2 separate regions of the Homo sapiens genome follow, and region 2 is linked to region 1. The links are contacts of gene promoters, found by promoter capture Hi-C in human tissues and cell types (Jung and others, 2019). All regions are on one chromosome and are shown on one strand. Each heading gives the region's core, a stretch centred on a gene start or on the middle of the fragment in contact. The rest is flanking DNA. Distances are from core to core; before and after follow the strand shown. Region 1 overlaps ZNF740 (zinc finger protein 740). Region 2 holds the start of SPRYD3 (SPRY domain containing 3).

Evidence for each region. The method cuts DNA at HindIII sites, captures the fragments that hold promoters and counts their contacts. A contact is called where the count stands out against the background at its distance.
Region 2: a contact is called between the fragment with the promoter of SPRYD3 here and a fragment that was not itself captured in region 1, in 4 of the 25 tissues and cell types used here (IMR-90 fibroblasts, adrenal gland, dorsolateral prefrontal cortex and 1 more).

The regions. Positions count from the first base shown.
Region 1 is chr12:53,186,777-53,190,782 of GRCh38, reverse strand. It overlaps ZNF740 (zinc finger protein 740), which reads right to left. Exons shown (of 7, transcript NM_001004304.4): 7 at 1-3,282. The coding sequence ends at 3,193. Among named protein-coding and RNA genes, the nearest start is that of CSAD, 7.9 kb to the right of the region's middle. RefSeq lists a silencer at 404-698. The HindIII fragment of the contact is 6,057 bases long and covers 1-4,006 here.
Region 2 is chr12:53,077,305-53,081,313 of GRCh38, reverse strand. It overlaps SPRYD3 (SPRY domain containing 3), which reads left to right and starts at 1,924. Exons shown (of 11, transcript NM_032840.3): 1 at 1,924-2,003. The coding sequence starts at 1,981. RefSeq lists a silencer at 1,944-2,223. The HindIII fragment of the contact is 7,407 bases long and covers 1-4,009 here.

The sequences.
Region 1 (4,006 bases), core at 335-2,834:
ATACAAGTTTATAACATCTTATAAAAACTACCATTTAAAAGTGATCTTGTCCATTTGATATTCCCCTCCCCCATAGCAAAATATTATTTAAAAAAAAAAAAAACAAAAAACAGGGTGGAGAGGAGGATAGGAAGGGGACAGTTGATAAAACCCCAGGGCCACAGCAGAGGCAAAGGGCATCTGGGGAGAGGGTTCGAAGCTGTGGCGGACTCCACTAATGTAACCCTCCAATGTCAAGCCATGGGCGTGATCAGTAGCTAAGTGATGACAAGGCTGTTGGGGGTGGACGGAAAAGACTTGGGGCAAAGCAGACTGTTTATAGCCTGAGCTGGTAGGGCCTGGTGCAGCAGCCTACCCGGAACTGGCACTACTCTTTCCCAGGTTCCCTGACTCTCTATCCTGGTCTCTGAGAGCGTGCCCTACTTCCGTTTCCCCCACTCCAAACACACCTGAGGCATCTTCCAGTGCTAGGCCCCATGCTGGCCAGCAGGGGTCGGGCATTGGGCCCAGGAGCCTCTGCAGCGGTGTGAGTCAGTGGCTTCCCTGGGGTATCCGTGGGGCTCCCGGGCCCTCTGGATGCCAAATCACTCCTTTCACTGCTTTGCGCCTCTCTTCTCACACATGCACTGCCCCAGACATCAGCGCGGGAACTGAACCAACCACCTGCTCCTGAGTTTCCCTCACTGGGTCCTTGGCAGGGGTGGCTCTGCTATGGCTGTTCGCACATACTCTCTGAAGTTCCCTCCCTCCCACCCACCCAGGCAGGAAACCAAGGTCTGTGGGAACCCAGGGCACCTTCTGACCCAGTACACACATTAGTACACATAGGGGCACAGGTCACTCATGTGAGACTTACATGAATCTCTCCACATACACCCCTATCCCAAAGAGACTAGCTGTAAGTGGCAGGGACAGAGGGCTCTCATTTTCAAAAGCATTTTTGGGAGGATAGTTTTCTAAATATTTTAAAATGGTTTACAGGGTACTGGAAGATGTGGGGTGAATCATCCCAGAAGTGAAGGACAGGAAAAGCCCAGATCCAGCAGAACCCTTGAACAGGAAGGGGGCTGGCTCACATGCAGAAAGATGCCCCTGCTTGCAGGGACCACAGGGCTGATCCAAGGACTGAGGTCTAAGTTCTGGACCACATCAAATGGGAGTGTCAGCATAGAGCTGTAAGAGTACATGGCAGCAAACACTCCTCAGCGTCTCCCCAAAAGGATCTCAGATGCTGTCAGGGAAAATCGAATGGGTGCCATGCCTGCTTTCTTTTTCCCTGAAATACTCATACCACAGAGGTATGGACAACCCCCTCCCCAACCCCACCCCTCCAGAATAGGTAACAGCCAGGAATCATTGCTGGTATCCATTCTTTACATTTTCTGGGAAATGAAATCATACTTTCAGGAGTTTCCCATCTCAGACCCTACTGACAGCTTGGCACTCAGGTTCAGCCAGTCTCCATGATTACTAAGACAGTTCCCGTACCCGCCACAGGTCAGGTCAGGTTACAGTGGGGGTCAACCAAACCCCAAAACTTCCCATAAGGATTCTTTCTTTAGCAGAAAGAAAAGGTTTATTTCACCTTAGAAAATTCATGTTCACAAGCCCTGGCTTGGGTTAGAAACATCCTAACCACCAGGCTGTTGAATTCATCTTAAAAAAAAAAACCCTCCAAAACAAAAGCCCTTCTGTTCCCCAAATTGTGTTCTTCAGCTCCTGCTGAGACCTCAAGCACCCTTCATGTTTGGGCAAGAGGAGGCTATTTTCCACTCATCCTCCCTGAAGGTGAGGGCCAGAGAAGGGTTTGGCTCAATAATATGCCATCTCCTGCAAGCATACAAATACATGCATTCATATCTCACACACACTCTCTCTCACACACACACACACACCCGATTACTTTTTTGGGAGTGGACAAGGTGGTGGTATTGGAGCAGAGAGGAGCAAAGAATATGGTTAAGAATGGAACCTACATTAGGTTTCTTCTTTAGTCTTTTCTCTGCAGCACCCCCACCCCCATCCCCCACACTCTGTTGGGTAGGGATGGCCATCAGGAAGCAAGCCGAGATCTTGTTTTTTGGGACCAAAGGACAGACCCCTCCCTACCTCCTCTACCTGAATACAGTGATAGGACTTGGGGAGGGAGAACAGCTCCTACTGCTCAACAGGCATGTCAGAAGACCCCAGATTCCTTTGTTTCTTGAGCAGCTGTTAGCCAACTTGGGACCAGTCTTGGGTTGTTCCTAAGAGGGCACAAGGAGAGAGAACCCACTTTGACTTCCATGACTCCTTGCTCAACACATCTGTCTCACTTTAGGAGTCAATGGCAGCGAGGTAGCCACATACCATCTCCAAGACCGACTCCCCAAAAAAAGAAGAAAAGGGCTTCATGGGCCACTCTCACCCAAGTTTCCTCCTAAAGGCATTTGAGCTGATGCCATCAGGTGCCAATGTGACATGGGCCATGACAACACCCACTGGCACAACTCTTCCTTTTCCCTTGAGGAAGGAAGAGGTGCCATCCACTTTTTGGATCCAGCCCTTGTCTGCTCCACCCCGTTTTTCCTTTTGTCCCTACAGTGTATAAGGAAGCCAAAGTAAGCTCAGCTGCCATTCCTGACCTTATTCTTCCTCAAAAAGGAGGCGAAGTGCAGGATTGTGAAACACTGAGGAGCTACTGCAACTAAAAACCCAATTTTTGGGGAGAGCTGGACCAGCTATAGTCCCTACTTTGGACCAGGACTCTTATGCCTCTGGATTACCTGTATCCACAGTTTACCCGCTGAAGTTGCTTTTGGATAAACAAAAACAAGAACAGAACAAACAAATCCCCTTCCCCAATCTTTTCCATTTCAGCTGCCAGCTGGAGTCCAAGGTTGTGGGAGCCACACTTCAGTCTTGGTCCTGTACCTTGAGTCCCCACCTATGACCTCAGCCAAGGGTCCAGGGACTAGCTCCCCTACCCAGGAATGCTGTAAGAACTTCCCCGAGATACTCATAGTCTCAGATTATTTACAGAGCTGAGGTTCTGGGGCCACTGTCCCCTGATGCACTCTTCTGGTCTCCTGGGTCCACTCCTCCAGGAGTGGGACAGGTTCACATGGGGCGGTGGTGGGACCATCAGACCAGAGGGGGTGTGCTCTTCGGCAGGTTCTTCTGATCACTCCCACCACCCGGGGCCCCTTGCGCCTATAGAGAAAACTGCCCGTCGGAAGTCTTGGACTGGCACCCTTGGCACATCCGTTTGTGTCTGAGTAATCGATCTGTCCGAGAAAAACACTGAGAAGAAAGGGAGGGTTAAGTGCCTGAGCAGACAAACGCAGCTACCTGTTGGCTAACTCATTCCTCTCACAGGAGGCAGATACCACATTCTCCATCCCCTCAGCACGTGCACAGACAGCAGGAGCACACGGTGGTGGAGAATCCAAGCTCTCAGGCCAGACCGCCTGGGGCTGAATCTTGGCTCTATCACTCAGCAGCTGTGTGACCTTGGGCAAGTTACCTAACAGCCCAGAATCTGCATACTCATCTGCAAAACTGCAAAGCGAGGCTAAAAGTACCTACTCACAGCACAGCTGCTTTATTCATCAAAGATTTATTGAGTATCTATCTCAAGGCAGATACAGAGTAGAGAACCAGAGGAACAAAGTCTCTGCCCTCATGGAGCTTTTATTCTAGCGTCTGAAGATTCAGTGTAAGAGTGCAGAGCAAAGCTTGGGACCTAGCAATGCATCCAGGAAGTGTTAGCTATTATCATTTCTCATCTCTTGTTCTTGTCTTGTTTTGGCCCCAGCTCTTACATTCTCATCAGATCAGATACTGACCCCCAGGGCAAAGATTGTATCTCTTCCTCCAAAGTGCATTAGCTCTGAAGTTGGACTGAATCCCAGCTCTGTTCGTGATCTGCGGTGTCCCTGGGAAACTTAACTTCTCTGAATCTCAATTTTCCCATACGTGAAATAAGGACAATACAGCTACCTTAGGGAGTCAATGTGAGGATTAA
Region 2 (4,009 bases), core at 675-3,174, 110 kb after region 1:
CTTAAATATATATGGTTTATTGTATGTCGGTTATATGGCAATAAAGTTGTTTATTCAAATACATGTAGACACCAAACACAAATTACCAACTGGGTCCTGAGCATGCCAATGGATGGAGAATTCGCCAAAAAGGTGAGCCCCACATCTGGAACTTAAAGGTGAGGAAATCCCGAGTGGAATCACCAACCATCAGTAACAGTTTGGAAATGCCTTCTTCTGCCATTTCTCTCCATGTCTGACCCTAGCCACCTAGCTAGTTAGTTTCTGGAATGAGCCCTGGTCTGGGATGAACATGACTCTGGCAGCCTCCTAAGATTGTCCCTCTCTGGCTGCCTTTGGGAAGAGCTGAGCTCAGTGTTGAGGTATTTTCATAACACAAGAAGAGGAGCGGAGGAGAAGCAATGAGGGAATCAAAAGGAGGTGGAGATGAGTTGGAAGGGTAGCTATTCAGAACTGAGTCATCCAGGGGCTGGAAGGGAGCTAAAAGAACACATACTTCAATAATTCTTGTTTAGGGATGAGAACACCAAGACCTTGACCTTTTAGTCACACAGAATTGGGGCTCTAATCCGGGTTTCTCTGTTTCCCATCTCATCTATTCCTATCACCCATTGCCGTTATGCCGAGTGGGCACTATTCACGGTATGCGAGCTGATGGCTTTCCTGGCACTCAACACGTTAGAGTACCTAGTGTGATAAGAATAGAATAGTCTGGGGTCTGAAGGAGCTCACAGTCTAGCAGAGACGGGTCTACACACACAAGTAACTCCAATAACGAAAGCAAGACGGTAATAAGTGTTATAAATGGCGGGGGGCGGTGGCTCACGCCTGTAATCCCAACACTTTGGGAGGCCGAGGTGGGCGGATCAAGAGGTCAGGAGATCGAGACCATCCTGGCTAACACGGTGAAACCCCGTCTCTACCAAAAATACAAAAAAAATTAGCTTGGCGTGGTGGCGGGCGCCTGTAGTCCCAGCTACTTGGGAGGCTGAGGCAGGAGAATGGCGTGAACCCAGGAGGCAGAGCTTGCAGTGAGCCGAGATCGCGCCACTGCACTCCAGCCTGGGCGACAGAGTGAGACTCCGTCTCAAAAAAAAAAGTATTATAAATGAGGTGCTACAGAGGAGAGGAATCTTTTCCGTCCAGAAGAGAGAGATATGGTGATGGGAAGGGAGCAAGGAAGTCCTCATCTAGGAGTCCAACCCCCCAGAATGGCAGGTAGGCACTCCCTAGTAGGTGTTCAATAAATATTCGTGTCTTCGTCCCTTCACATTCTAACCCCAGTCTAACTTTCCTTCAGCCTACCAAAGCCCTGTGTTCCTCCACAGAATGCCGCTTCGTGCCACTGTGCCTTCTGCATCCCCAGTTCTCTCCTCCTGGAATGGAATGTTCTTGCCAATAATGAGCGAGCGGTGCCATGAAACAGAGCTCGGGAGGGTACACAGCATAACAGTTAAGCGCGCAGGCTATCGAGGCCAGCCTTCGGCCCATCCGTAAAAAGGAGATAAGATTTATTTCATAAGGCTGCACCGTGGATTAAATGGACATTCCGGTAAAGCTTTTATTTCAGTCCAGCGCGGAAGGAGGGCTCAAGTAATACTCGCAACGTTTGTGCGAGCGTGGCCACCTTCTCCGCCCGTCCCGTCTCCCCGGCGCCGCTCAAGAGCCGCCCCCTGTCCGCCTCAGCGGCGCCCAGGCACCCAGCAGCGTCCGCGCTGCCACGTCGCCTTCGCTCACCCCAGCAACAGCCGGGTTGACCAGACCGGGGCCCTGAGCTGGGTACCCAGGGCACCGGGCCGCGCCCCACACCCTGCCTGCGCCTTCCGATTGGCTCCTGCAGGTGCCCGTCGTCAGAGGCCGTTGCTGATTGGCTTAGATGGGGGACGGGGCGGGCCTCTAGGAGTGAAGGAAAGGCGGGGACCCGGATGTGTGTGGTGGCGGCGGCCGAAGAGCTTGTGTGCGGAGCTGAGAGGCCTATGGATGAGGAGGACGCGGCGGCCCCGGTAGGCGGGGATCGGGGGCGGGGTCCCGGAGGCCTCGTATCTCCCCGGAGCCTGAAGCGGAAGGCGGGGGTCCTGGGCGGGGGCTCTGGGGCCAGGGGCGGGGCCCTGCGCTCTGGTCACTGGGCTTCTTCTGTTGCTGCACCCTCGGCCCAGTGCAGGGCCTGGGGAGACTGGGCGTAGGCACACGGATGGGCTGGGGCCCGGCTGCTCCCGGGTCTCATCTCAGTGATCAGGCCGTGCCCGGGGAGGAGACAGGGCCCAGTAGGGCCGCCACTCGCCGGTGCCAAGACTGTGGGGTCTGCGCAACCAGCATCTACCTGGGGTTGAGTCCTGGCTGAGTGCCCGGGAGTGGAATCTTAGGGCTGTCTGTCCCACAGGTGCCTACTCTTCTGGGCCACGTGGTGGGTTGTAGCTACTGCATAAGAGTCGTAATTTGCGTATTGGGATCAAATTCAGCCCAGCCAAGGCTTACTAAGCACCTACCGTGTGCAAGGCAATGTCAGGCCTCAAGAAAACCCCTGTCCCAGTGTTTAGGGAATGGGAAGAGAAGAGTACTTCACCTCTTTCTCACTTTTGGCTCCCAGGAAAAATCATTCATTCATTTATATGTAGGGACTGATGGTTGTTTAAATACCTGGATCATCCCACCCCCATCCATCGGCGCTGCTACCGACTTAGTGGATGTCATTTCTCATGTGAACTGCTGCAACAACGTCTGAATTGTTTGCCCACATCTGTTCTTGATCCTCTTGTGATCAGTTCTCCAACCAGCAGCTGGAATGATCTTTAGGAACTGATTAAGATCGTGGCTTTTTTTTTTTTTTTTGAGATGGAGTTTCTGTCACCCAGGCTGGAGTGCAGTGGGACGATCTCGGCTCACTGCAAACTCCACCTCCCAGGTTCAAGCAATTCTCTTGCCTCAGCCTCCTGAGTAGCTGGGATTACAGGTGCGCACCACCACGCCTGGCTAATTTGTTTGTATTTTTAGTAGAGATGGGGTTTCACCATGTTGGTCAGGCTGGTCTTCAACTTCTGACCTTGTGATCCTCCCACTTCGGCCTCCCAAAGTGCTGGGATCACAGACGTGAGCCACCAGGCCCAGGATCATGGCATTTTTTTTTCTTTTTTTTTTGAGACAGGGTCTTGCTCTGTCAGCCAGGCTGGAATGTAGTGGCACAATCAGAACTGACTGCAGCCTTGACCTGCCAGACTCAAGCCATCTTCAGTCTCCTTAGTAGCTGGGACTACAGGTGCATGCTGCCACACCTGGCTCATTGTTTTAATTTTTAGTAGAGATGAGGTCTCACTACGTTGCCCAGGCTGGTCTGGGTCCTGGCCTCAAGCGATCCTCCTGCCTCAGCCTCCCAAGGTGCTGGGATTGCAGGCATGAGCCATCATACCCAGCCAATCATGGCATTTCCTTGCTTACAACCCTCCAGAAATTTCCATCTTGGAATAAAATCCAGAGTCCTTACCATTTCATTGTCTGTAGGGCCATGATCTGACTCCTGCCTTATTCTCATCTTGTACATTCTCCCTCACATTCCCTATATACCAGCTGTCCATGCCTTTTTCTGTTTCTCTACCATGCCAGCTCTCTTCCATCCAAGGACCTGTGGCTGCCCTTCCTGCCTGGAATATGCCTGGCTTGTCATGCCTAGCTCCTTTTCAACTCAAATGTCACCTCCTCAGAGAGACCGCCTCTGTCCACTCTATCCACTGCCTCCAGATTCTTTATCATATCACCCTGTTCTTTTCTCCACTGCCTGAAATTATGTCTGTTTATTGCCTGTCGTGTCCACCTCCCAGCCTGTGAGAATGGGAATCCTGTCCATCTTGTTCACAGCTCCATCCCTAGCACGGAGAAAAGCACACAGAGTAGGTGCTTGGTAAATGTTTGTTGAATGGAAGAAAGAAGATGAGGGTTGTTGAGGTCAATCTGGGCAGCTGGCCTCAAGGCCAGTGCCTTCTCTACCTTCTGGGTCACAGAGGCTGAGGTGCTTTAC